Linked DNA regions of Homo sapiens: regions 1, 2, 4, 5, 6 and 7 are each linked to region 3. The links are contacts of gene promoters, found by promoter capture Hi-C in blood cells and fetal thymus (Javierre and others, 2016). All regions are on one chromosome and are shown on one strand. The core of a region is centred on a gene start or on the middle of the fragment in contact, and the rest is flanking DNA. Distances in the headings are between cores, read along the strand shown.

Region 1 (3,667 bases), core at 901-3,400, 630 kb after region 3:
GCACTTTCGGAGGCCGAGGCAGGCAGATCATGAGGTCAGGAGATCGAGACCATCCTGGCTAACATGGTGAAACCCCGTCTCTACTGAAAATACAAAAAAATTAGCCGGGCGTGGTGGCGGGCACCTGTAGTCCCAGCTACCCGGGAGGCTGAGGCAGGAGAATGGTGTGAACCTGGGAGGCGGAGCTTGCAGTCAGCCAAGATCGCGCCACTGCACTCCAGTCTGGGCAACAAAGTGAGACTCCGTCTCAAAAAATAAAAATAAATAAAAAAATAAAAAGTGGTCATAGTCACAAGTCATCGTTTTTATTCCGCTTTTGATGACCCAAATCTTCCTCTTAAGTTTGAATACATGGTGCCCCGTGACGGGCTCTCCCAGCTCACTGACTGCTCCTGCACTCACTGTGCCTCCTTCATTAGTTGGTACTTCTCTAAATCTCCTGGGGTTTTAGGAGTGATAATCACTCTTGTGCCTATAGCCTCCCAGAGTAAAAATACAGAATAGGAAGTCAGGGAAATGAACATAAAAATTCAACTGTATTAGTGATAACATTAAACTGAAGAATATGGCTTGGATCAGTGGCCAAATGGGTCTCCTAATACATTTCACTTTGATCTGAATTTAACCCCGTCCAAGACTGCTGACTGCTCTGCTGCAGAGACAGAATCTGCCCTGGTAAGCTTCCCTCTAGTGTGTGCTTCAGTCAAGTTGACTCCAAAGAAAGGGAAACCCAGAAAGATCAAAACCATTCATGCTCAGTACCTTTTCCCCAATGTATCAATCCCAAAAGTCATCATTTGAATTTTATCTAGGAGTAAAGTCAGTAGAGAGAAGTCTAGAAGGATTTTAGCCCATTTTCCTTCTTGGAGATTGAATATATATTATTTTCTACTTGTGGAAATATGAGGAGTAGTAAATAAGATTCCCACACATGTACACATATTCCTCTGGTTTCCATTCTCTTCACATATTTGGTTTAACAGCTAAGCAAATGGCTAATGATGGGTTCAGTTCATCCCCAGGGACAGAGATGAGCTTCAGAACAACCCTGTTTATGAAGGCTTCTCTGCAAATACCAACCAATGCTCCACTGTGTCCAAAGAATCATACGTTAAGTAAACTTATTCCAAAGTTCTACTTCTACCCTCATACGAAGTTCTATTTTTACTCCCTATTCTGTTTCTCATTCTAATTTGTGCCCAGCCTCACTCTCCATCATAATTCACCAGAGGTTACACGATGAAGTCAAATAGAGGCATAATTATTCTCCAATAATAGCATCAACAACATAAAAATTACCAAATGGGAATATAAATATACTCCCTTATGAAGCTCTCAGGAAGAAATTAAAGCCTCTATGTTAAGACACCTGGCTTTAAATTCAGAAATATATATATATATATATATATATATATATATATATATATATATATATATAGTACAAGACATCAGAAATTAAATTCTTTTCCCCATGGGCTCCTCTACTAAGAAAGTCCAAAGAGTTAACACAACACAGAAAATTATTAGAATCCTAGTTTTAAAACAACTTAATTGCAGCTCCAAAGTGAATATCTCCAATTTTTTTAGAAAAGGATCTCCAGAAACTAGGAACCAATATGTACTGCCCCCAAAGACCATAAAAGGCTCAATGTTATCTAATGAAAGGAGAGTCAATTCAGAGAAACAATTTCTGCTACTCTAGACTCCCAGTTGGTCAGTGTCACTTGTTCAGGGTCCAAAATCAGTGAATTGTGAAGTCAGCCATAAGATTAATTATGCTTAACAAATATCAAGGGGAAAGGAGTTCATTTTTGCATTCTCTCTCTTCAATCAGAGAGTGGGAAAAACTCCTGACAAAGTTTTGAAATTTGCAGTAGTCATGGCCCCAAGTCAGCGGGTCTTATTGAAGTTTCTTTCTTTCCTATGCAGCATACTTAAAACTTGTTAATTTCATTTTCCCTTTGAGCCTAATTTTCTGCCCCCATTCCAGGATAGCAGTTGAGGGTGAGATCTGTCCAGGATGCAGGCCTGTTTCACAGGGACTATTGCTGCTTGCTCTGGAATGTCTTAGAGCATGAGACTTGCCTGCTAGGGAAGATTCCCCTCTCCCCAGTCTTGGTCTCTGCTGGAGAATCACCCTCTGCAGGCCCTTCTTTTCCTCAGCTTTCTAATGTTCTAGGCTTTGAGCAACATCTCTTTTTGCTTAATAGTTTTCTGCAACAGGAAAGGTCTCTAATGCTTTATTTCTGTCTGCTATTCTCTTATTCAAAGTAGGTTCACAATAGTTTACCTTGCTTCTTAAATGGATTACTTTCCTTCTCTACCTTAGGAATAACTATCCGTAAGACCTGAGTAGCTGCTTCTCTTTCTCTTTCTCGTTGTTTTTAAGCTCAGTTGTCTGTTTTCAATGACATAATTTTCTCCAGGTTTTGTCTGGTAGGGTACCCTATCTTGAGATCATTATAGTGAGTGAGTTCTGGTGCTGCCCAAAACATCCACTGTTTAAAAAAATATTTTCAACCTTCACCTCCTGGGTTGAATCATCTCAATCACTGTCTCGTCAGAGACAGGCTGAATTAGATGTATTATTTTCTTTCTTTTTCAATATATAGTAGCTCCTATCACTTCCCTTAAAGCCCTTATTTTATATTTCTTCTCCTTGAGAGAGAGACAATATCTTCCCACCCACTTACAACAGGTGTATCACCTTGCATCAGTACTTCTTTTAATGTAGGTTGCTATTTCAATCATTCTCTTTCACATCTGTCCAGATATTCTATAGCCGTGTGGTTAGTTCTCATTAAAGACTCCTTATCTACAACTTTAAGAGGAACATTTTCAAGAGTCTGTTAAGCCCACAATTTCATAGGTGACTCTAAAAAAACAAATTCTACCAAAATATGAAACATCTGTCTATAACTGTGTCTATAATAATGGTGTCTATAGACAAGTATATTTATAGACTAAGTAAAGTTTCTAAAAATCTTTCTCTTTTACAATGAAATTGAAAAGTGGATTAGCCTCAAGTAGAGTCAGTTATATCAATGGCTTTTATTTTTCTTCTAGATCCACATAATAGAAAGAGAAAACAGAACAAAACAAAGCCTGACATTGTCAGTCTGTCCCTAAAACTTCTCATTATTAGGTTTAGAATAAAGGTTACTCAAAAGTTCTTTTTAAAAAAAAAAAAAAAACTTGTTAGATCTGGGATTGCTCAACATAACAATTACACTACACTCTCTTTGACCCTGCTACTATGCTATAACCATGTTTTTCTATGCTCCATTTACCCTCCCTAATTTTAGAAGAACTAAAACAATCCCCTCTTTTACAGTCCCACTTTAAAAAGTAGATAAACTGGGGCTTATTTTCTTTAATTTGTCATATCTAGCTAGTCAAACCTCTAAGATTTTAACATTTCTCCTAAGAAAAAGTCTTTCTTACTCCATTGGAATTTGTCTGTTACTTTATTTTTCTTTCATTCTTCCCAAAATTCTTATTCTAATAATAAAACCAAAGCATATTTTTAAATCAAGACATTCCTCTTAAATTCCAAATAAAACTATTCCAGAAACAGAGTGTAGGAGGCACAATCTATTTTAATTGCCATTTTAAGCTTTGGATTCACAATAATTTTGTTGACGTTTTGCACTATCCACTATGTACT
Region 2 (3,959 bases), core at 1,209-3,708, 730 kb after region 3:
TTTTATTAAACTTGTTTTGCACCAGCATTCAATATAATTGTTTACTTGTGTGAGCTTTTCAGTTTCTGAGTCATGGTAACCTGATGAGCAATTTTTCTTTTATATTTTCATAGAAATACTACATTGTCTTAAAGAGGACATAGAATAGGAGCCACCTTTAATTCAATCAACATATTAGTTAAATACCTTTTGTTGTATAATATATGTACCTTATTCATGCTATTTTGGCAAATAAAGGATGTATTGATCACAGAAATTAAAAATTCACATAAATGAATATATATATGAGAATATATATTTATTTATACGAATTTTAAAACCATATATATATAGATGGTTTGAGCCCAGGGTTTAAACTATATCAGCAAAACCAGGCTCTTTCTTTCTCTCTGCCTTGTTCTCTGATATAATGGCTTATTCTCAGGCTCTATGAAGAGGTAAGATAGTCAGTCCATGCCTTCCATGTTCAAGTCCAGCAGAAAATAAAGAGCATCGCTTGTAGAAAGCATCCTTAAGACTCAAATAATTGACTTTGATTGGCCCACTTCAGTCAGATCCCTTTTCCTGAAACAAATATGATATCCTTGGGAATCACTGTCACATTCTTCATGCTATAGAGCCCCATCTGGACACTTGGCCAGAGACCATGGAATTTGTTACCCCAAAGGAAAACTCATGTACTTTTTCTCATCAAGTGAGGATAAATGCTCAGCAAGCAAAAATAGCATATATCCATTGCAACCTTTTAATACATTCACAAATCCATTGTTCCACTGTCTCCAATGAGCAGAATTCCTATAGAAAGAAGGCTTGTTCTAAAACCAACTTCTTAACATTTCTCTTGGTTAAAACAAAAAAAAAAAGCCAAGTATTGGCTGGGCACGGTGGCACACCTGTAATCCCAGCATTTTGGAAGGCCAAGGCGGGTGATCACCTAAGATCAGGAGTTCGAGACCAGCCTGGGTAATATGGCAAAACCCTGTCTCTACTAAAAATACAAAAATTAGCTGGGCATGGTGGTGCATGCCTGTAATCCCAGCTACTCAGGAGGCTGAGGCACAAGAATCGCTTGAACCCAGGAGGCAGAGGTTGCAGTGAGCCAAGATCACATGACTGCACTCCGGCCTAGGCAACAGAGTGAGACTCTGTCTCAAAAAACAAAAAAAAAGCATTAATGCATCATTTCCTTTTTAATTTATGATCAAATCACATGCAAGTGTACATTTTCAAGTTCCATATGATCATTTGGGGTCTTTATAGAGTCCTTGCTCAATAGCACAAGTTTGTAGTAGCTTGTAGTGATGACAGAAACTACCTTTAATTGTGCAGAGGATAATTGTAATTTTCTTTTTCTAGAGGACACGCATTTTCACCTGAAGCTTTCCCTTGAATATCATCACATTCCAACTTCAGCTTTGCAGATTAAATATAAGGGATTTCCTCTACATCAATGCCTCCTGGACTATTGACTATAATCTGCCTTAGCAGGAAGCCAAGTATTTTAGAGAGCTATATTGTGTATCTCTGAGACCAAAAAAGAAGAGCAGCTTCACCTAGGCCTCCTGCAAGTTCCACGAAATGGCTAAACTGATGTGGTTCTGTCTTTCCAAATAAAGGAATTAATTTTCAAAAACTGACAAGAATCTCTGGTATTCCTGCATTTGTCTGAGAAAAAGCTCTCCTGTCATGTGCAGCTACACACCTGCCTCCGGAACCTGGGAGAAGTTATACCTGTCATTGCCAACCATGAAGGCTTGATGAGGGCTTAGGAGCTTTATTTCTACAGAAATAATCCATTCTCTGCCATCTCATCTGAAGTTCGGAGAAACAAGAATTGCTTCTCTATTTTCAAACCTTATGTTTTCTTTTACAAATAAAAATACATCAAATTTATTTATTGAGTACCTACTAAAATTACGGGATCTATGTCCTTAAGGAAATCATGCTGCTGTAGAAATTCTGATGTGTTATACAATGATTTAGAAATGTACTGTGGAATCTTATAAACTGCATTTGATATGTGTGGCTAACCTCCTAAGATAAAACTTTGTCTTTCATAATAAATAACTATTAAAAAAAATCATTGCCTTATGTAGTCATGGCAATACTGTGGAAATGGGTTCCAAGGGATATATATATATATATATATATATATATATATATATATATATATATATATATATATATATCTCTCTCCTTACTTGAAACTGGTTTTTGGTTCCTGTTGAACAAACCCCTGATCTTTACTCTCATCAAATCATAATTATAATTTATAAATTTTAAAAATAAAATTCATTTTAAACTCTTTTTGGGTATAAACTCTCTTTGGGTATAAACAGTTTGATAACTGTACATCTTTTGATGCTATTATCAAGTACTCATAATTTTTTTCCTGATAAAAGAGATCATACCCCACCAGGAAAAAAATGATGCTCTGCAGGGTTCAACTGCATCCAGGGTTGAGTGGGAGAAACAATCAGTTTCTTCCATCTATTTTCATTTAAGAAAGAAAATAAGTGCACTGTGAGGGTGCAAATTATCTGTGTATACATACAACATGGAGAAGTAGCCCTACAGTATCTCAGAGCTGCAAAGAACCTTAAAAGCCACCTAGCCATCTAATTTTACCCACATTCAACCAATGCCCAACTCACATTTACAACCCTCACGTGCCCATTCAGTCTACTCGAAGCACGAAGCACGTCTAGAGAATTGTTTACCTCCTGAGGCAGCCCATTTTATCTTGTCATCCATAATAATAGGCTCTTAATTTGTGGCCCCAAATAGTTGTAGTGCTCTCCAGGTTCTAGTTTCCCTGAGTTGTATTTGATGCTCTTGCTTAAATGGGTCCAAATAGGTGCCTGTAAGATTGAGGACAGAAAGATAGTTTGGTTTATAGCTCCAACTTATTACAATACCCCGAGGTCATGGGTCTTAATTCTAGACAGCTTAGCTAAATAAACTGGGGAAAGACTACAAAGTGTGTTGTTTCCCAGCTCAGCTATTTGCCACTGTGCAATTTTCCCAACTCAGTCACATTCAGTCCTCTTCCCTTCTCCAATGCCAGAATGGGAATTGGGAATAATGGCATTTCTGGGTCACTTAATTAGGAAAGAGCATTCAATGACTTACTCTTCTACTCTAGACTCCCTTCTCTTCCTAAGTATGACAAACTTCACAGATCAGGACTTATTATGTTCCTTCCTCTGTTAAGTTCACAGTTAAAAAATTATCTATTTTTCAGGTGAACACCACCAACATGTATGTGCTCTTAGAGAATAAACAAATGCAAAGGGAATAGGCAGTTTGTGTCCAGACTTTAAGAAACCTGTCAGAGAAACTATGTGAGTCTTTGAGGATCTACTCTCAAGATAGAATTTGAAACTTTCACTGGATCCTGAAAGGCTGAGAAAGCCCCGGGCAATGAAATGCTGATGGATGAGGAAGTAGAAATATGCAAGAAAATGCTATCAGCCATATTGGGGGTCTGTGTGACAAAATGAAAAAAAAGTGTCATCAAGCCTAAGACAAGCTTAAAAAGCCTAAAAGAAGCCAGGTCCAAAAATGAGACTTAATATTTGGCTTCAAGGGAACTCACTTAATTTATTCCCCCAGCTCTGTCCACTGAAAGGGCTGAGAAGTCCAGAAGCAATTACACCCCAGAAGCAATGAATATACCTCATACTTAGATCCTTAAATGAATGTCATTCTCTATTAAAAGGACTCACAGGTGAAATGGCAGATTCCAAGACTGGAGCAGAAAATGCACACAAGATGAACCTGAAGCATTTTCTGCCAGAAAGCAAGGAGCTGCTAAAAATAAAACAAAATAATAATAATAATTTTAAAAATAATAATAATAATAATGAAGACATGGCAAAAGGATACATGAAGCACCATGAAGTGGTTCCCTCTGGCCAAGCCAGAGACAATTTGAGCAACCAAAATCAATAACAACT
Region 3 (3,784 bases), core at 265-2,764:
TTTGGACCTAGACTACGCCCCACCCCTTTTCCCGCTGCAGCCACCGCCACCTTCGAAGTTCTAGTCTTAGCTCTCACGCAGCGGAGCTGCGGACTCCCTCACCGAGAACCGCACCAGGACCCCATTCAGTAGTGAGCGGCGCGCTGGGACTCTGCTACCAGCTCCGCGACGCCGCCGGCAGCCAGCCTGGCTCGGGAGACCCCACCCCTCCCAGCCCGGCCCCCGCCCCCGCCCGGAGCCGCCGCCTGAGTTACGCAGCCTCAGCCCTGACACCTTCTCTGCTTCTTTCCATCTGGATCACCTGGGGCTAGGGGCGGGCGGGAGTAGGGCTGAACCGAAGTGGGATAGGAAAAGCGGGGAAGAACCGAAGCAGTCCCAGCTGCAGAGAGCCAGGACGCCAATGGCAAGACCCCGGCCACACATACACTCTCCTGCGCGTCCTGCTTCTCGGGTTCAATGCCAAGTGGCGACAGGGTGGAAGGAAGGAAGCAGAGGTAGGGTGGCGGGAAGGCCCAGAGTTACTGGTAACGACGTTCGGAGGAGAGCAGGGGATGCTTCAGAAACTGAGAAAGTGAGAAAGTCCCAGACCCCCTCCTTAGCCCCAAGGCTGCCAGCAGCCCGGGTCGCCTTCCCTACAGCGAGGCTCGAGAGACAGGGAGGGTAGTCTGAGCCAAGCTTCCTCCAGGCTGCCCTCCCTGATCTGGCCCAGGGCCCAGAACCCGGCCCCTCTTCAGCCCTGACTTGGGGAGGCTGACAGATAGGCAGCGGACTTGCCAAAGGACTCTGGGGAAGCAATAGGGCAGGAGAGGAGCATCTTGCACGCTCCAGCCGGGCTGCTCACGACTTCCTCTGCCGACACACCCCCAGCTAACCCTCTCCCCCGTCGTCACACACACAGATTCAGAGACACGCGTGCGTTCATCCCTCCCACCAGCCCAGGTCCATCGATTAAAACACTAGTTGATTTCTTCCTGATTAAAAAAAAAAATTAAAAAGTGCAACAACAACTCCTCTCAGGACTCCAGGAGCAAAGAAAGTCCGTCTGCAGGCGCCTTTTCTGTAGTTTCCCAGGAGTTTGGAAATCTGGCTGTCCCTGCTGAAAATCGGAAAGGGGACCCCGGAGGGGTCGAAGGGTGCCGAACTCCCTCCCCACCCCTGCGCCTCTCACCTCCTTAAGTTCCTTGGCCACGTCCTTCAGGTCGCCCAGGACTAATTCCAAATCCTCCACGATGATCTTGATCTGTTCCTTCACCTTGGTTTTGGAGGCTGCCGGCGGTCCCTCGGCTGGACAGGACGAGGAGGGGTTCCCCTTGGACTTGGCTGACATTCTTTGGGGGCAAGCGAGGCAGGTCAGGACAGGCGGGCGAGCGGAGGCTGCTGCGTGCCCCCGTCCCTGGCGCTGCTACGGCCGCTGCCGCCCCGGTCCCCCCACATCTTGGGCGCTCCCTGGGCAGCGGCGAGTGGCTGCGCTCCGCGCTCGGCCGGGCGGCCGCACAGTGGTGCTGCCATCAACTCCCGAGACGCGGCGCTCGGCTCGGGGCTGCAGACGGGCGAGCAGCGCGCCTGCGCCTCCTCCCGCCGCCGCCCGGCGCTCTCGCGCACACGCGCTCGCTCCCCGCCCGCGGAGAGGGGCGCCGTGCTGCCGCGCCAGGGTTGACGCTTGCAGTCCCCTCGACGTTGCCCTTCGAGATATCTCCCAGATGCCACCTTGGCATCAAGGTGGGGGAGACAAGTCCGTGTCCTGCCCGCCCCCTCCTCTTGGTTCTGAAATGTCCCCATCATCTCAGCCTGCTTGCTGTATGTCATCTCACAACTAGCCTGGATTCTTTCTGCTTCACTTGCTAGCAGGGACCTGGATCAATTCAGAAAGAACCACAGTGGGATCAGGAGTTGGAGACAGTCTGTAAAGTGGCCCTACAGATTTATCCAAACCCAAATGATGTCCAGAGGCCTTTAATCAATCTCTTGGTGACCTGCGAGTTAAGCAGACTTCTTAACTTCTGCAAGAAAAAAGGGGGGGGGGGGTGCACATAACAGCTAATGGTCATCTATTGAAACCATGAAATTCAACCAGTGTTCTTGAAAGAGGTACCCTAATCCTGCTAATTCCACAAAGCTAATACCGGATTTATTAATTTGAAGTCCCCACACCCCAAATCCTCTCTGATTGTCTCAGTCATCTTGGCTGTATGTCTTATTTGGCCCAACTCTTTTTTTTTTTTTTAACTGTCCTTCCTCTTTTTGTGACCTATGCTGATTTACATTTTGAGTGGAGTGGGGGAGACATCGTATTTGGACCTCGTGAAGGAGCTGAGTAAGAGATTGCCTCCAACTTCTCTTTCATCATTTTTTAAACCTCCATTTCAACTCTTTTGCTACTAAACAAATAGGAAACAACTTTCTGACTGTTCTGTCAAAAAGACCCAAGAAGGGAAGTTAATAGGAAGCCTTCGGTTCACTCTCAGTAGGTGTCTACAATTCTCATTAGCTAGAATTTTAACTTCCTTAGTTGTAAACCCATGGGCTATTAGCTACTGACCCAGCAGGCTGGCTCTACTTTATTTTCTTCACTGCACACTCCTCCAGATCATTCTTTTAATAGGCTTCCCCTTTTCGTCGTGCCTTAGCAAGGCTCTCTGTTTCTTGCTTCTCACACTCTGGGTAGCTCCACTGTGCTACACATAAAGAAAAGCTTGGCAGCTCTCCTCTTCCCAGTTCTGTAGGCTCTTAATCAATCACTCTCTTAATCCTGGACAATTCATCTTTACAAAACCTTTGGAAGTCATATGTGGAATATAGAGGAAGAAAGAGAACAGAAGAAAAAATTGAAATTTGAAAGTGGTGTCAAAAGAAAACCATTGAAAACTGCATTGAAAAATCAGGGGAAGAAATGAGAAAAGGTGAAAAGCAGATGCTGCTGGAAAGACTTAAGAAGAGATTATAAGAACAAGTCTGCAGCATGCAAACTGGAGAAAAGAAAAAGAGAAGAAATGATTAAAAGTGTGAAATAAGTAATATGCTTGAGTTCTCTGAGGTAGGGAGAATTAGATTTTTAAAACATCCTTTTTCTCCTCAAATTCTTTATTTTATAAAAAATATAACATTAAAATAATTATATCAGGTTTACAGACTCCCCAAAATTGTCAAAACTAGCAAAAGCTAATGGTAGGGGAAAAGAGAAAGTACTATTCTTCTAGATTGGAATTATTTTTGACTCTTAATAGTAGGCAAGTGTGTAAGAAAGCCGCCAAACTCAAAGTTAAGTGACTTTAGACAAGGATATGGGAGAGGAGGAAAGGAAATTGTGATTTCCCTCACAGTGACAAAATAATCCTCCCACAATATAAGAAGATGTCCATGCTACTCTGAATCTCATTCACTAAAGATTAAAAAAAAAAAAACAAAACAGGCTAGGCACAGTGGCTCATGCCTGTAATCCCAGCACTCTGGGAGGCCGAGATGGGTGGATCACAAGGTCAGGAGTTCAAGACCACCCTGGCCAAGATGGCAAAACCCCATCTCTATTAAAAATACAAAAATTAGCTGGGCATGGTGGCAGGAGCCTGTAATCCCAGCTACTCAGGAGGCTGAGGCAGAGAATTGCTTGAACCCGGGAGGTGGAGCTTGCAGTGAGCTGAGATCGTGCCAGTGCACTCCAGTCTGGGTGACAGAGCGAGATTCCGTCACAAAAACAAAACAAAAAAAACTGTTCTCTTCTGATACTCTGATATCCACTGCTGCTACTGAAACAAATAATTCTGACTTAAAATCAAATCATAATTAT
Region 4 (3,785 bases), core at 900-3,399, 590 kb after region 3:
TACCAGACATTTGGTCCATCCATAAAGAACTGAGGGTCTCAAAATTTTAACCAAGTCAATGTAGTATTTTTTACATTATTAACTGAAGAAAAATTAGCATCTTTTAAAAACTATATAAAATTAGGAAACAAAGAGAAGTCAGAAGGAGCCAAATCAGGACTGTAAAGGCTGCCTAATTTCTCACCGAAACTCTTACAAAATTCCCATTTGATGAGAATAATGAGCAGAAGCATCATCGTGGTAGAGAAATGTTAGTGGTGGCAGAGTTAGGAGTTACCCCAAGTTACCAGCGGTATATTCTTCCGGGTCCACAGCAACTTCCATCCTTGCCTCCTCAAAAGAACAAATTCGGCCAGCACGGTGGCTCACGCCTGTAATCCCAGCACTTTGGGAGGCCGAGGTGGGTGGATCACGAGGTCAGGAGTTCGAGACCAGCCTGGACATCATGGTGAACTCCCGTCTCTACTAACAATACAAAAATTAGCCAGGCCCAGTGGCGGGCACCTGTAATCCCAGCTACTTGGGAGGCTGAGGCAGGAGAATCACTTGAACCCGGGAGGTGGAGGTTGCAGTGAGCCAAGATCACACCACTGCACTCTAGCCTGGGCAACAGAGCAAGCCTCCATCTCAAAAAAAAAAAAAAAGAAAGAAAGAATTCGACTGAGGGGCATAGAGAAGAAAAAGAGTCTGAGGCAAGTTTCAGAGAAGAAGTGGAAGTTTATTTAAAAGTCTTTAAACAGGAGAGAAAGGAAAGCACCCTGCGAGGAGATCCAAGTGGGCGTCTGAAGGTCCAAGAGAAAAAATGGGCAGAGAAAAAGCACCTTTAACCTTGATCCTAGCACTTTGTATCTCCCTTCTTTCCCATGATTCTTCCCTGAGGATGGGCTTTCTGCATAGCGCAGTGCCCTCCTTACCTTTGGAAATTGAGCACGCACAGCACAGTGTGTTCAGGGAGTTTTATATGCATGCCTCTCTGAGGCTTTCTTCACTTTTCCGGTGGAGTGTGACCGGGAAGATCATACTTCACCATTTTTGTCTCTTAACAGGCATGCCCAGGAAGTTGCTTCTCCCTAAGGTCTGCTTTCAATTAGCATTTTTAATGTTAACAAGTGTAGACCATCAGGAGATTATCTTTCCTTGGCTGCCGAATTACTCTTGTTAGAGAGGCAATGTGATAATTGCCAAACCAGCACCTGACATTTCTAGTGGGTGTGGGGAAAGCCCTCCCCTGACCTGCTCATTGCCTTTCCAACTACCTGTAATGGTAAGTGCTCTATGTAGGTGTACCATTTTTTATCTTTTATTTCATATTCCCACTGTACCTTTTCTATGTTTAGATATGTTGAGATACACAAATACTTACCATTGTGTTACAGTTGCCTATAGTATTCAATATAGTAACATGCTATACAGGTTTGTAGCCTAGAAGCAAGAGGTTATACCATATAGCCTGGGTGTATAGTAGGCTATAGTATCTAGATTTTTGAAAGTATATTCTATGATGTTCACACAATGACAAAATTACCTAACAATACCTTTCCCAGAACAGATCTCTTTCATTAAGCAATACATGACTATACTAGTCAGGTATCTTTCTATACTGATAAAAAAAGAATTAGTAGGAAAACAAAAGCTAAATGAGTAATTAATTGATAAAGAAAAGGCTAAAGAAAGAATAGGAAGGGAATAAAAAAATTTTAAAGTAAAGTGTACAGTCTTCTTTTGCATTTAGAGGTAAGAGATAAGAGTAAATATAAATGAATAAATTTTATTTACAGAAATAAATGTTCTGCAACATAAGGAAATATGCATATAAAGAAAGGAAGTTAAGGAACTCAACAACCCATTTTCTATTTTAAAGAGAGGCATAGATAGACAGGCACATTGGCACATGCCTGGAATCCCAGCAATTCAAGAGGCTGAGGTGAGAGGATCACTTGAGCACAGGAGTTTGAGACCAACCCTTGGCAACAGTGCAAGACCCCATCTCTTGGAAAAATAATGTAAAAAGGCAAAGTTGCCTACTGAGATAGAATGAATTTGGATATTTACAACTAAGGCTGTGAATTGACAGCAGCACTAACTTTTATATTTGGGTGATTTCTTCAAGCCAATTTGTGACTCAGTGAATAATGTACAGGGTAGGTAGTTGGAAAAGACTTTGGAACTTAATGTTACAGCTCTTGTCATTTTAGTGGTTAAAGTCATTATGGAGGTCAGGTGGGTACAGAATATATAAAGCCATGAAGAATTGATGGCTCTGGAGAACAAGCAGTTCAACATTGGAGAGCTTCATGACGTTTCGTGATAGAACTGAAGAGATAGAAGTTGGCAGTGAGTGTTTGGTGTATCAGAATAGAAGACTTTAGACGTGATAGAACTATGAATGTTATAACTGAATTATGTCCGCTCAAAAGTTCACATGTTGAAGTTATGACTCTCAGTACATAAGAATATAACTGTATTTGGAGATATGGTCTTTAAAAAAGGTAACTTAAAATAAAGACATCAGGGTGGGCCCCAATCCAATATAACTGTCTTCCTATTAAGAGGAGATTGGGATGTAGATATGCACAGAGAAGGATCAAGGAAAAACACAGGGAGAAAAATGGCCATTTACAAGAACTAGGTTTTACTGTCTTAGTATTTCCGGTGTCCTCATAGTACCTACATATAGAAAGCGTTTTGCAAATTTAGTTAAGTTAAACTAAACAAACGACTCCTTTGAATATAAAAGACAGCATGCTTTATTTTCATATATAACCACAGAAATAATACATACTAAAATTGCTTATACAGTGGTCTTGCCGCCAACCACAGTATGAAAATATTAAACAGAAAATTCCAGAAATAATTCATAAGTTTTAAATTGCATACTGTTCTGAGTAGCATGATAAAACTTCACTCTGTCCCGCTTCATGCATCCTTTTGTCCAGCGGATCCATGCTGTAGATGCTCTTTGCCCTTTAGTAGCCATTGTGGTTATCAGATCGACACGATGTTGCAAAGCTGCCATTCAAGTAACCCTTATTTCACTCAAAAATGGCCCCAAAGTGTAAGAATAATGATGCTGGCATTTTGGCTATGCCAAAGAGAAGCCATAAGGTGTTTCCTTTAAGTGAAAACTGAAAGTTCTCAACTTAATAAGGAAAGAAAAGAAAAATCGTATGCCAAGGTTGCTAAGATGTACAATAAGAACAAACCTTCTATCCATGAAATTGTGAAAAGGAAAAATAAAATCTGTGCTAGTTTTGCTGTTGCACTTCAAACTGCAAAATGCCCACAGTGCATAAGTGCTTATTTACGATGAAAAAGTCATTAAATTTGTGAGCGGAAAACATGAACAGAATCCTGTTCTGACTGAGGGCAATTGGGTTCGGTATTATCTTCAATTTCAGACATCCACTGGGAGTCTTGGAACATCTCCCCTAAAGATAATAGGACACTGCTGTATTTATAAAGTTTATTATCTGAATTCCTCTTAGCAGCAAAGGTAGGCAACAGAGTTTGCAAACATACAATTTGCTATTATAAATTACAACAGAAGAATTGTTTAAAAGATGAGTTAGTATCATAACCATAAAAGCTATATGTATATTTATAATTTATTTTAACGGTAGAGGGAGGAAAAAATACAGAATGATAAAGTGGCATTTTCACTGTTGGCATGTCTCTAGGAACCTTTAATAATATGCCAAAGTAACAAGAAGTTAGATGCTATTAAACACACACAGCATAATATCACCGTAGAATTGTTCATTAGCTAGAGTGCTCAGAGACCATGT
Region 5 (3,615 bases), core at 323-2,822, 990 kb after region 3:
TATATTAGAAGAAGAATGTAAGAGTGAAAAAAGGAACTAAAAAAAAGAAAGAGAGGGAGAAGGGTAGTCAGGAGTAGTGGCTTAGTAGGATGGAATCAGAGAAGGAAATACCTCAGTCCCGTTGCAGCACCAAGAAAAGCACCAACATAGGCCCCCTTTGCCAGCAAATCCTATCTTTCTCAGCTTCTTTTTTACCCCAGTTGTTACAAGGGAAGCAGAAACTAAAAGCTCTTCTTAGCTTAATTCTAAATCAAAGACACTAACTCTTCTTCCAAAAGACAGTCAGGCACTATTCCCCCAAAACACACTCTATAAACAATGATACAATTGTTTCACCTCAGTTGCCATGCTTCCCTCTGTCTCAGCCACCACTGTTCATTTTAGTTCTGATGGCCAATGAAAGTAAGCACAAAGAGGAGCAAAAGAAAAAAAAAATTCTTAACTGTGATTTGTTCATTATCTAAACTCAATCTTTCCAATTCAGAAAGAATGGAAAACTTTCCTATTTACTAGAAGCTTCAAAATTATATCCAGGTTTTGTCCTAACCTGTTCTAAAATCTCCATCATTTTTAGTGCACTAGACTCCCTTAAATATCCTGCTCCTGTTCTTGAAAAAGATTCACACAGCTGGATAAGCACGTTAAAGGCTGTTAAGAGTTAATACCTCTAGAAAATGCTGACAACCTCTTAAGGAGAAAAAAAGGGGAGAGGGAAACCTGAAGAAATAAAATCCTTTTAGATATCTTCTAAACAAATGATTTAACATTTTTTAAAAGTATTAAATGTTTTCTAAAAGAGGCTACTTCTAACTATTCATTGTCTTCAGTATACAGTTTACTCATCATTTATATTAGCAGCAAAAGTAGATAGAAGCAGGTTTTTCCTTAAATGTATAAATTTATCAAATACTAAAAAGGCTAAATGGATAAGTATGTTCCCCAGAGAAATACTAAAAACAACTTACCCCAGTCTTCATCACTTATCCTAGCAAAGGAACGATCCCTCAGAATTCTAAAAAATCAATGTTGTATAGGGTAAAAGGAGGAAAGTATATACTTTTTAAAAAAATTATACACACATCACTAAAAATGAAAAAGAAATACTCACCCAGCATTGTTGACCACAACATCTACAATATAAAAAGATACAAGTTACATCTAAAAGCAAGCATATTAGTTTGCATTTGCTTACAACTCACATTTCTCTCAAAACTGGCGTTTTTTAACCATGAAAAAGTAAATATAATAGGTAAAGAGTGCTTTCAAAACAAAAGTCTATACCTATATCAAAAAAAGTTGACTCACAAAAGCCTAAGTATCACATTATATCAAGCACCTTCCTCTCAAACTAACATCTATAAATTTTCCCACCTCTCTATCAAAATTCTATCCACTTAATTATAGAATTAGCCATTTTACAACTCTTAGGTTCTAAGGAATCAGAACCATAAGCCATTCTACACTTAACCTCAAAATTCACTTAGCAAGTTAAAGTTACATTTTTCCCTTGCCACTCAAAAGTAAAAAGTCCAAAAAGAAAACCATTAGAGTTACAAACTGATGCCTTATCTTGATACATAATTATTTTCTCACTATGAAAGAAAATAATTATTTTTTAAGGTTCAACCCTCTTGTGGCTATTTTCACCCTATGATTTCACATTTTTGTGGTTTCTATCCCTGTCAGACGATATGTGAACATGGTTCTTATGAGTTCAATCAAACAAAATTAGAAAAATAAGTGTAATAGACCAAACAAAAAAGGGAGAGCACATTCAATTAAGAATAAGTAATGTTTTTCAGATTGTAAACATGTTGGGCTTATGTTCCGTGATGTCTCCATCTAGTAGTTAAATAATCTTTTATTAAGAGTGTGTGGGACTAAACTGGGAAGATTAGCTACAGAAATAACAAACTCAACAATTTATTTGAAATACTTCTTAAAAATTAAGATTTTTATTATAGAGAAATCATCTTAAGTAATTTGCAAGATATTGGATTATTTTAATCCAAATTATTATAATTATCCAAAAGAATCCACTGGGTACTCTATTGCCAAAATATTGGTTTATTTTTTAATCTTATAAACATCTTTGAGGTTTAACTGAATTATTTTAAAAAGGGCACTGAGTAAACGCTCGTAAGTTTTTTAAAGCACTTAAGGTGCAAAAAAACAAACTCAACACTATATCCATAAAATTGCCACCTCAATTAAACCCTTTATGAAATAAGTACAATAATTAACTTATAAATCAAATTTTAAAATGTGATTATGAGGAAAGAGGTATCTGTTTAGTAAATGAAAGTCAACTTAAAAATATTTCATTAGGAAGGTAGAAGTTGCTCCACAAGAGCCATAACACAAAGAAACATCACCTATTCTTCCAAAAGCATCCAGGGCTGTCTTCACAACCTTCTCTCCTTCTTCCACTGAATCTGAGGGAAAGGAAAATTTGTATGAAATTTCGGCAACCTCCCTTCCAAAGGACTTCTAAATTCTGTGGGTCAGAGTACACGACAAATACTATTCACCCAACAGAACTCAGAAGAACATATCCATATCTACAATAATTTACTAATTATATCATGTGCTCACTAATAAAAATAGTAAACAATAGAACAAAGCTTAGAATCATGAAATAGTCTACATCAAAAGTTTTAACAATTCTCACATATATAAAATATGTAGTCAGAAAACTTTGGCAGACTTAGAAAATCATAATTATACTGGAATACTGAGATATTTGCTCAAAGATTATTAATGTGACAAATAGCATTAGTTGAAGGAAAATAAATAGTATAGTTCTCTCAAATACCATACCATAGTTGGCCACTGCTTTTCCACCTCTCCTTCTTATTTCTTCAACAACCTTATCAGCAGCTAAGGAGCCTTTACCAACTCCTTTGAAGTCCCCTCCCAAATCATTCACTGTAATGCAAAAACAAGCAAACAACAATTAATTATTCTAGACTTTCAAAATGTGTGTGTGTGTGTGTGGAAAATGAAATTCTAATTACTAGCACATCTCTTCAGTCATCTGCCCAGTTCCTTCCTACCCTATCCCATCTTACTAAACACAACACAGCCATTTTCAAAACATTCCTCTTCATTTTTGAATACAGACATAAAGAAACAGCAAAACTATTTAAATACAGGTTGTTCTCATGAAATTTTTAACTGTGCAGTGTTTTTCCTCTTTCAAAAAGTAAAGAAGACTGGGCATGGTGGCTTATACCCGTAATTCCACCACTTTGAGAGGCTAAGGTGGGAGGACTACCTGAGCTCAGGAGTCTAAGACCACCAGCCTGGGCAACATAGCAAGATTTCATCTCTACTAAAAACCAAAATAATTAGCTGGGCATTATGGCATGTATCTGTAGTCCCAGCTACTTGGGAGGCTGAGGTGGGAGGATTGCTTGAACCTGGGAAATCAAGGCTGCAGTGAGCTATGATCATGCCACTGCACTCCAGCCTGGGCAACAGAGCAAGACCCTTTCCAGGAAAAAAAAAAAAAAAAAAAAGGAGCAGGGAAGAAAAGTAAAAAAAAAAAAAAAAAAAAAAAGATTCATCCACTTTTCAGCAAAAGAAAAGAAAAAATGTGAAAATCGCTTTAAG
Region 6 (3,569 bases), core at 385-2,884, 710 kb after region 3:
TAGTTCTTCAAGGAATCTCCATACTGTTTTCCACAGTGTTTGTACTGTAGCAGGACGAGCCGCAGACAAAACCTCTCAGACACTGAATTGTAGAAGGAAGGGCTTTATTCAGCTGGGAGCATCAGCAAGCTACTGCCTTAAAATCCAAGCTCCCCAAATGCACAGTTTCTGTCCCTTTTAAGTGCTCACAACACTAAAGATTTCACATGAAAGGGTCGTGATTGATTTGAGCAAGCATGCGGTACGTGATGGGGCAGCATGCACCGGTGGTCAGAGAGAAACAGAACAGGGCAGGGAGTTTCACAATGTTCTTCTATACAATGTCTGGAATCTATGAATAACATTGGTTTCTAAGTTATGAGTTGATTTTTAACTACTGGGTTTAGGCCAGGCAGGCCCAGACCTGGTTTCGGGCCTGGCGCCCAGCTGCCTGTCTTGGGTTTTACGTCCTTGGTTTTTTTTTTTTTTAAAAAAAACAGGTACTGAGTATGAAACAATATAAAACAATATGAGAGGGTCTCTCTCTTCCCTCAGTACTAGTTCCCACCAGCAGTGTAAAAGTGTTCCTGTTTACCATACCCATGCCAACATCTATATTTTTTTTTATTATGGCCATTCTTGCAGGAGTAAGGTGGTATCACATTGTGGATTTGATATGCATTTCCCTGATCATTAGTGATGTTGAACATTTTTTCATATGTTTGTTGGCCATTGTATATCTTCCTTGGAGAATTGTCTATTCATGTCTATTCATGTCTATTTTTATGGGATTGTTTGTTTTTTTCCTGATAATTTGCTTGAGTTCCTTGTAGATTCTGGATATTAGTCCTTTGCTGGATGTACAGATTGTGAAGATTTTCTCCCACTCGTTGGGTTGTCTGTTTACTCTACTGACTGTTCCTTTCACCATGCAAAAGGTCTTTAGTTTAATTAAGTCCCAAATATGTTTCCCCAACTTTTAGATTTCTCTTCTTCCTCAAGAATGCCAATTATTCTTAGGTTTGGTTGTTTAACATAATCCCGAACTTCTGCGGGGCTTTGTTCACTTTTTAAAGTTCTTTTTTCTTTGTCTTTGTTGGATTGGGTTAAATCAAAAACCTTGTCTTTGAGCTCTGAAGTTCTTTCTTCTGCTTGTTCGATTCTATTGCTGAGACTTTCCAGAACATTTTGCGTTTCTCTAAGTGTGTCCTTTATTTCCTGAAGTTGTGACTGTTTTTCATTTATGCCATCTATTTCACTGAAGATTTCTACCCTCATATCTTCTATCATTTTTTTTTATTTCCTTAAATTGTACTTCTCCTTTCTCTGGTACCTCCTTGATTAGCTTAATAATTGACTTTCTGAATTCTTTTTCAGGTTAAATCAAGGATTTCTTCTTGGTTTGGATCCATTGCTGGTGAGCTAGTGTGATTTTGATGGTGGGGGGTGCTAAAGAGCCTTGTTTTGTTATGTTACCAGAATTGTTTTTCTGGTTCCTTCTTATTGGGGTAAGCTATGTCTGAGGGGAGATCTGGGGCTCAAGCCTGCTGTTTACATTCTTTTGTTCTGCTGTTCACCATGGGGTGCTCCCTTGATGTAGTACTCTCCCCCTTTTCCTAGGATGTGACTCCCTGAGAGCTGAACTGTAGTAATTGTTATTTCTTTTCTGCATCTAGCCACCCAGCAGGGCTACCAGGCTCTGGGCTGGTACTGGGAGTTGTCTGCAGAGTCCTGTGATGTGAATCATCTTCAGGTCTCTCGGCCACGGATACCAGCAACTGTTCCAGTGGAGGTGGAAAAGGAGTGAAATGGACTCTGTGAGTGTCCTTAGTTTTGGTTGTTTAATACACTATTTTTGTGCTGGTTGGCCTCCTGCCAGGAGGTGGTACTTTCAAGAGAGTATCAGCTATGGTAGAATATGGAGAATCAGGAAGTGGGCAGCGCCCTCGAACTCCCAACAGATTATGCTCTTTGTCTTCAGCTACCAGAGTGGGTAGGGAAGAACCATCAAGTGCGGGCAGGGTTAGGCTTGTCTGAGCTCAGACTCTCCTTGGGCAACTCCTGCCCAAGGGGTGGGGCCATGGCTGCTGTGGGGAATGGGAGTGTGGTTTCCAGGTCAATGGAGTTATGTTCCCAGGAGGATTATGGCTACCTCTGCTGTGTCATGCAGGTTGTCAGGGAAGTGGGGGAAAGCCAGCAGTTACAAGCCTCACCCAGCTCCTATACATCCCAAAAGGCTGGTCTCACTCCCACTGTGCTCCCCCTGAGTTTGTTTCCAAGTAGTGGGTATGGCTGAGAACTTGCCCCAGGCTACCAGCTTTCCATCTGAGAAAGCAAGCAGGGCTTTCACGCCTCCCAGCCTGTTGAGTCTGCATTGAATTCACACCCTCCCCCGAATTCTGGCCAGGAGACTTCGCCTTTGGTTGGAATTGTTACCAAGTTTAGCTGGAGGTTTCCTTCTCCCTGTGGTCTCTTCCCAGTTACTCTGGCAGCCCTCCTCAAGGACCCCTGTGAGAGAAGTCAGAAATGGCTTCTCTGGGGACCCAGAGAGACCACAGGGCTTTTCCCGCCGCTTCTTACACCCCTGTAGTTCTCTCAGCTCTCTAAACTGACTCAGATCCAGGTAAGGTCAAATCCATTTTCCATGATCTATACCTCCAGGTTCCCCAGTGAGGGTGTGTTTGGGGGCAGACAATCCTCTTTTCCCACTGTCACAGTTTGGGCACTCACAGTATTTGGGCTGTTTCTTGGGTCCTGCAGAAGCAATCCACTTCCTTCAGAGGGTCTGTGGATTCTCTCAGCTTTCCTAGTATATTCCTGCAGCAGTTCTGTAGCAAAAGTTCACAATATGAGTGTTTACGTGTCTGTCCGAGCTGGAGCTGCAAGCTGGTCCTGCCTCCTATCCACCATCTTGCTAAGATCCCTGATTCTTAAAAGCAGTTTTAAAGTTCTTCATTGTTCATTCTTCTTTGGGCCCATTTATCTTAGTTATTGAAGTCACTAGTAGCACAGGATCATGCAGAAAAAGTGCCTGCTGCTATGGTTGTATCCACATAAACAAACCAGTTAAGTATCTGTTGAATTGCTGGATACATCAGGCCAAAATTCCAAACTAGTTCCAGCTTTAAATTATTTTACTTAATTGCTGTGGTGACTGATCGATCTCTCAAACTTGTTTATCTGTGTAGACATGACCTATATTATGGCTGAGGTAAAAAAACCAGTAACTGAGAAGTTGACAGCAGCATAATTGAATTCATCAACATAAGAGGGGCATAAACTCTACCATCTCTCAATCTAAGAACCAATTCTCACAGCTCTATCAACTGGTAGGCTGGACAAAATGAAGAATTTCTAACAATATTTCATTATTCTGACAAAAAAATTAGATATGTAACAGCCCAAGAAGTCCTCAAAAAAGCATATTTAAATTTATATATTTATTTATATATATATAAATTTATATATTTACATCCCCAGTGGGGATGTTACCGGAGGGTCCTTGCTCCCAGAGCTCCCCAGACGGTGGTGGGCTGCTTCCAAGATGGTGGTGGGCTGCTTCCAAGATGGCAGCGGGCTGCTTCCAAAAT
Region 7 (3,941 bases), core at 1,075-3,574, 540 kb after region 3:
GTTCCTTTCAGGTCTGACATTCCCAGTTCTCTAATTCAGCTCTGATTAAAATGAAGTATTGAAAGACAACAAAACCACACAGAAAAATCCCTGCTTGCTCACTACAATAGCAAATGTGTTCACTAGGTAGGCTAATTGAGATGTTAGGGCAATATATAGTGTTCTAGACAACAAATTCCAATCTTGTCAAATTGAAATGTGCCTTTAGTTACCACATAAATATTTTCAGCCTTCTGAAATATACTTTATATATAGTAATAATTTATCAAGTATTAACATTTCACGAGACTTCCAATAGCATATAAAAATGATATATCAAAGAAATCTTCTTCAAGTTTATAGAACTCCTGATACTTTTTAGCAATATTTAATGCCAATTATTGTAACACTAGAAAGTAATTTCATAAGTTGTATGCAGTAAAACACAATTAGAGACATAGATAACATTTTCAAAAGTTAAATTATATATTAATCTGTGAAATACAGAATATTATTAAAATGAATAATGTGAAATTAAGCTTCTATAGCTAATAAATTCATTTATGACCCCTTAACATTCTCTTAAATGAATGAAATAAAAATTTAAAAAACAACATTTCCTCCTGCTGCTGTCATGTGTGCCCAAGCATGGTCCCCACTGCCACCACTCTGATAAAGTACTTTTTCCAGCACCCCCATCAGAGTGTTGACAGTGGACCAGTTACATCTTGGCCCCTCTAGCAAAGCAGCGGCTTAACCTCGAGGGCCAGAGAACAAAGCGCTGGGCCTGGTCCCAGCCCCCCAGCATTACAGCAGGCAACTCAGGAGCAACAAGCTGAGCCTTGGTCCACTGAAATTATCAAAACTAAACTAGTTGACTGAACCGACAGTCAGATCCTCAAGGGCATTAAAGAATATAAAAGCAATAAAACCCCATCCAAAGGAAAGCAACTTCAAAGATTAAAGGAGTATCAGCCCCCACAGACGAGAAAGAACCGATATCAGAACTCTGGCAACTCAAAATGTCTTATTGCCAAAAACTGCACTAGCTCCTTAGCAATGGTTCTTAACTAGACTAAAATGGCTGGAATAACATGCATAGAATTCAGAATCCGGATGGCAAAGAAGATCATAGACATTCAGGAGAAAGTTGAAACCCACTTCAAGAAATCTAACAAATTAACTAAAGTGATACAAGAGCTGAAAGATGAAATAGACATATTAAGAAAGAGCCAAACTGATCTGATCAAGCTGAAAAACTCACTACAAGAATTTCATAACACAATTGGAAGTATTAACAGTGTAATAAACCAAATGGAGAAAAGAACCTCAGAGCTTGAAGACTGGATATCTGAACTAAGTCAGAGAAAAATCAAGAAAAAAGAATGAACAAAACTTCCAAAAAATATGGGATTATGTAGAGATCAAATCTACAACTCATTGGAATCCATACATGAGAGGGAGAGAGAGAGCAAGTAACTTTGAAAACAAATTTGAGAATATTGTCCATGAAACATTCCACAACTTCACTAGAGAGGTTGACAGTCAAATTAAGGAAATTCAGAGATACCCTGTGAGACACTATCCAAGAAAACGAAATCCAAGACACACAGTCATAAGATTCTCCAAAGTCAATGCTAAAGAAAAAATATTAAGGACAACTAGCGAGAAGGGGCAGGTTACCTACAAAGAGAACCACATCAGGCTAACAGTGAACATTTCAGCAGAAAGCCTAGAAGCCAGAAGAGATTGGGGCTTATATTTAGCATCTTTAAAGAAAAGAACTTCCAACCAAGAATTATCCAGCCAAACTTAGCTTCATAAGTAAAGCAGAAATAAAATCATTTTCAGACAAGCAAATGCTAAGGGAATTTGTTACCACCAGACCTGCCTTACAAGGGGTCCTTAAGGGAGTGCTAAACATGGAAATGAAAGAACATTAGCAGCACCACAAAAACACGCTTACGTACATAAACTATTGACACTTTAAAGCAACTACACCATGAAGTCTACATAACAACCAGCTAATAATACAATGACAGAGGATCATTCCACACATATCAATATTAAACTTGCATGTAAATGGACTAAACACCCCACTTAAAAGGTATAGAGTGGCAAGTTGGATAAAGAAGCAAGACCCAACTCCATGCTATCTTCAAAAGACCCATCTCATATGCAATAACACCCATAGCTTCAAAGTAAAGAGATGGAGAAAAACCTATCAAAAGGAAAACAAAAAAGAACAGGGATTCCTATTTTTATTTCAGACAAAAGAGACTTTTAAGCAACAATAATCAAAAAGGATAAAGAAGGACATTACATAACAATAAAGGGTTCAATTCAACAAGACTTAACTATCCTAAATATATATGCATCCAACACTGAAGCACATAAAACAAATTCTTACATAATCACACAGTAATAGTGGGAGACTTTAACACCCCACTGACAGTATTAGATCATTGAGACAGAAAACTAACAAAGGTATTCAGGAATTAAATTTGACACTTGACCAAATGAACCTAACAAACATCTACCAAAAACCCCACCCAAAAACAACAGAATATACCTTCTTCTCGTGTGCACATGGCACATACTTTAAAATCGACCACACCCTCAGCCATAAAGCAATTCTCAACAAATTTTAAAAAAATGAAATCATACCAACCATACTCTCAGACCAAAGCACAGTAAAAATAGAAATGAATACTAAGAAGATCTCTCAAAACCATACAATTACATGCAAATTAAACAACCTGCTCCTGAAAGACTTTTGGGTAAAAAATAAAATTAAGACAGAAATCAAGGAATTCTTTGAAACTAATGAGAACAAAGATGCAGCATTCCAGAATCTCTGAGACACAGCTGAAGCAGTGTTAAGAGGAAAGTTACAGCAGTAAATGCCCACATCAAAAAGTTAGGAAGATCTCAAATTAACAACCTAACATCACACCTATAGGTACAAGAAAAACAAAAGCAAACCAACCCCAAAGCTAACAGAAGAAAAGAAATAACCAAAATCAGAACTGAGCTCACAAGATGAAGAAAAGAAACACTGTACAAAATATCAATGAAGAACTAAGATTGAAAGACCACTAAATAAACTAGCAAATAAAAATGAGAGAAGATTCAAATCAACACAATCAGAAATGACAAAGGGGACCTTACCACCAGTCCCATTGAAATACAAAAAACCCTCAAAGAATATTATGAACATCTCTACACACATGAACTAAAAAACCTGGAAGAAATGGATAATTTCCTGAAAACTACAACCTCCCAAGATTGAACCAGGAAGAAATTGAATTCCTGAACAGACCAATAATGAGTTCTGAAATTTGATCAGTAATAAAAAAAAAAAACCCTACCAACCAGAAAAAGCCCTGGACCAGATGGAGTCACAGCCACATTATACCATATGTATTAAGAAGAGCTGGTACCAGTCCTAATGAAACTATTCCAAAAGATCAAGGAGGAGGGACCCCTCGATAACTCATTCTAAGAGGTCAGCATCATCTAGATACCAAAATCTGGCAGAGACACAATGAAAAAAAAAAACGCTTCAGGCCAATATTCCTGATGAACACAGATGTGAAAATGCTCAAAATATTAGTAAACCAAATCCGCCAGCACATCAAAAAGCTAATCTTCCGTGATCAAGTAGGCTTTATCTCTGGGATGCAATATTGGTTCAGTATAAGCAAATCAATGAATGTGATTCATCACATAAACAAAACTAAAAGCATGATCATTATAACAGACACAGAAAAGCCTTTTGATAAAATTCAACATCCCTTCATTTTAAAAACCCTCAACAAACTAGCATCAAAGGAACATACCTCAAAATAAAAAGAACCATCTATGACAAACCCACAGCCAACATCATACTGAATAACCAAAAGCTGAAACATTCCTCTTGAGAACCAGAACCAGACAAGGATGACCACTCTTCATTACTC

What was found. Contacts are between HindIII fragments. The CHiCAGO score rates a contact against its expected background, and 5 or more counts as called.
Region 1: a contact is called between a fragment that was not itself captured here and the fragment with the promoter of PRR16 in region 3, in 1 of 17 cell types (neutrophils). The highest score is 5.5, in neutrophils.
Region 2: a fragment that was not itself captured here is called in contact with the fragment with the promoter of PRR16 in region 3 in 1 of 17 cell types (neutrophils); the score reaches 5.6 in neutrophils.
Region 4: a fragment that was not itself captured here is called in contact with the fragment with the promoter of PRR16 in region 3 in 1 of 17 cell types (neutrophils); the score reaches 5.2 in neutrophils.
Region 5: a contact is called between a fragment that was not itself captured here and the fragment with the promoter of PRR16 in region 3, in 3 of 17 cell types (megakaryocytes, endothelial precursors and monocytes). The highest score is 8.2, in megakaryocytes.
Region 6: a contact is called between a fragment that was not itself captured here and the fragment with the promoter of PRR16 in region 3, in 1 of 17 cell types (M2 macrophages). The highest score is 5.1, in M2 macrophages.
Region 7: a fragment that was not itself captured here is called in contact with the fragment with the promoter of PRR16 in region 3 in 1 of 17 cell types (neutrophils); the score reaches 6.3 in neutrophils.

What each region holds. Positions count from the first base shown.
Region 1 is chr5:119,828,974-119,832,640 of GRCh38, reverse strand. No RefSeq gene overlaps it. Among named protein-coding and RNA genes, the nearest start is that of FAM170A, 200 kb to the right of the region's middle. The HindIII fragment of the contact is 2,936 bases long and covers 683-3,618 here.
Region 2 is chr5:119,734,737-119,738,695 of GRCh38, reverse strand. No RefSeq gene overlaps it. Among named protein-coding and RNA genes, the nearest start is that of FAM170A, 110 kb to the right of the region's middle. The HindIII fragment of the contact is 2,153 bases long and covers 1,382-3,534 here.
Region 3 is chr5:120,462,030-120,465,813 of GRCh38, reverse strand. It overlaps PRR16 (proline rich 16), which reads right to left and starts at 1,514. Exons shown (of 2, transcript NM_001300783.2): 1 at 1,169-1,514. The coding sequence starts at 1,327. RefSeq lists an enhancer at 639-1,140 and a silencer at 1,546-1,595. The HindIII fragment of the contact is 2,017 bases long and covers 678-2,694 here.
Region 4 is chr5:119,871,064-119,874,848 of GRCh38, reverse strand. The region is part of intron 1 of LOC105379144 (a long non-coding RNA gene); the gene reads right to left. Among named protein-coding and RNA genes, the nearest start is that of FAM170A, 240 kb to the right of the region's middle. The HindIII fragment of the contact is 7,465 bases long and covers 1-3,785 here.
Region 5 is chr5:119,473,221-119,476,835 of GRCh38, reverse strand. HSD17B4 (hydroxysteroid 17-beta dehydrogenase 4) reads right to left here. Exons shown (of 24, transcript NM_000414.4): 3 at 2,821-2,928; 4 at 2,376-2,435; 5 at 1,109-1,130; 6 at 966-1,012. Among named protein-coding and RNA genes, the nearest start is that of HSD17B4, 23 kb to the right of the region's middle. The HindIII fragment of the contact is 2,108 bases long and covers 519-2,626 here.
Region 6 is chr5:119,751,850-119,755,418 of GRCh38, reverse strand. No RefSeq gene overlaps it. Among named protein-coding and RNA genes, the nearest start is that of FAM170A, 120 kb to the right of the region's middle. The HindIII fragment of the contact is 7,171 bases long and covers 1-3,569 here.
Region 7 is chr5:119,920,706-119,924,646 of GRCh38, reverse strand. The region is part of intron 1 of LOC105379144 (a long non-coding RNA gene); the gene reads right to left. Among named protein-coding and RNA genes, the nearest start is that of FAM170A, 290 kb to the right of the region's middle. The HindIII fragment of the contact is 3,607 bases long and covers 521-3,941 here.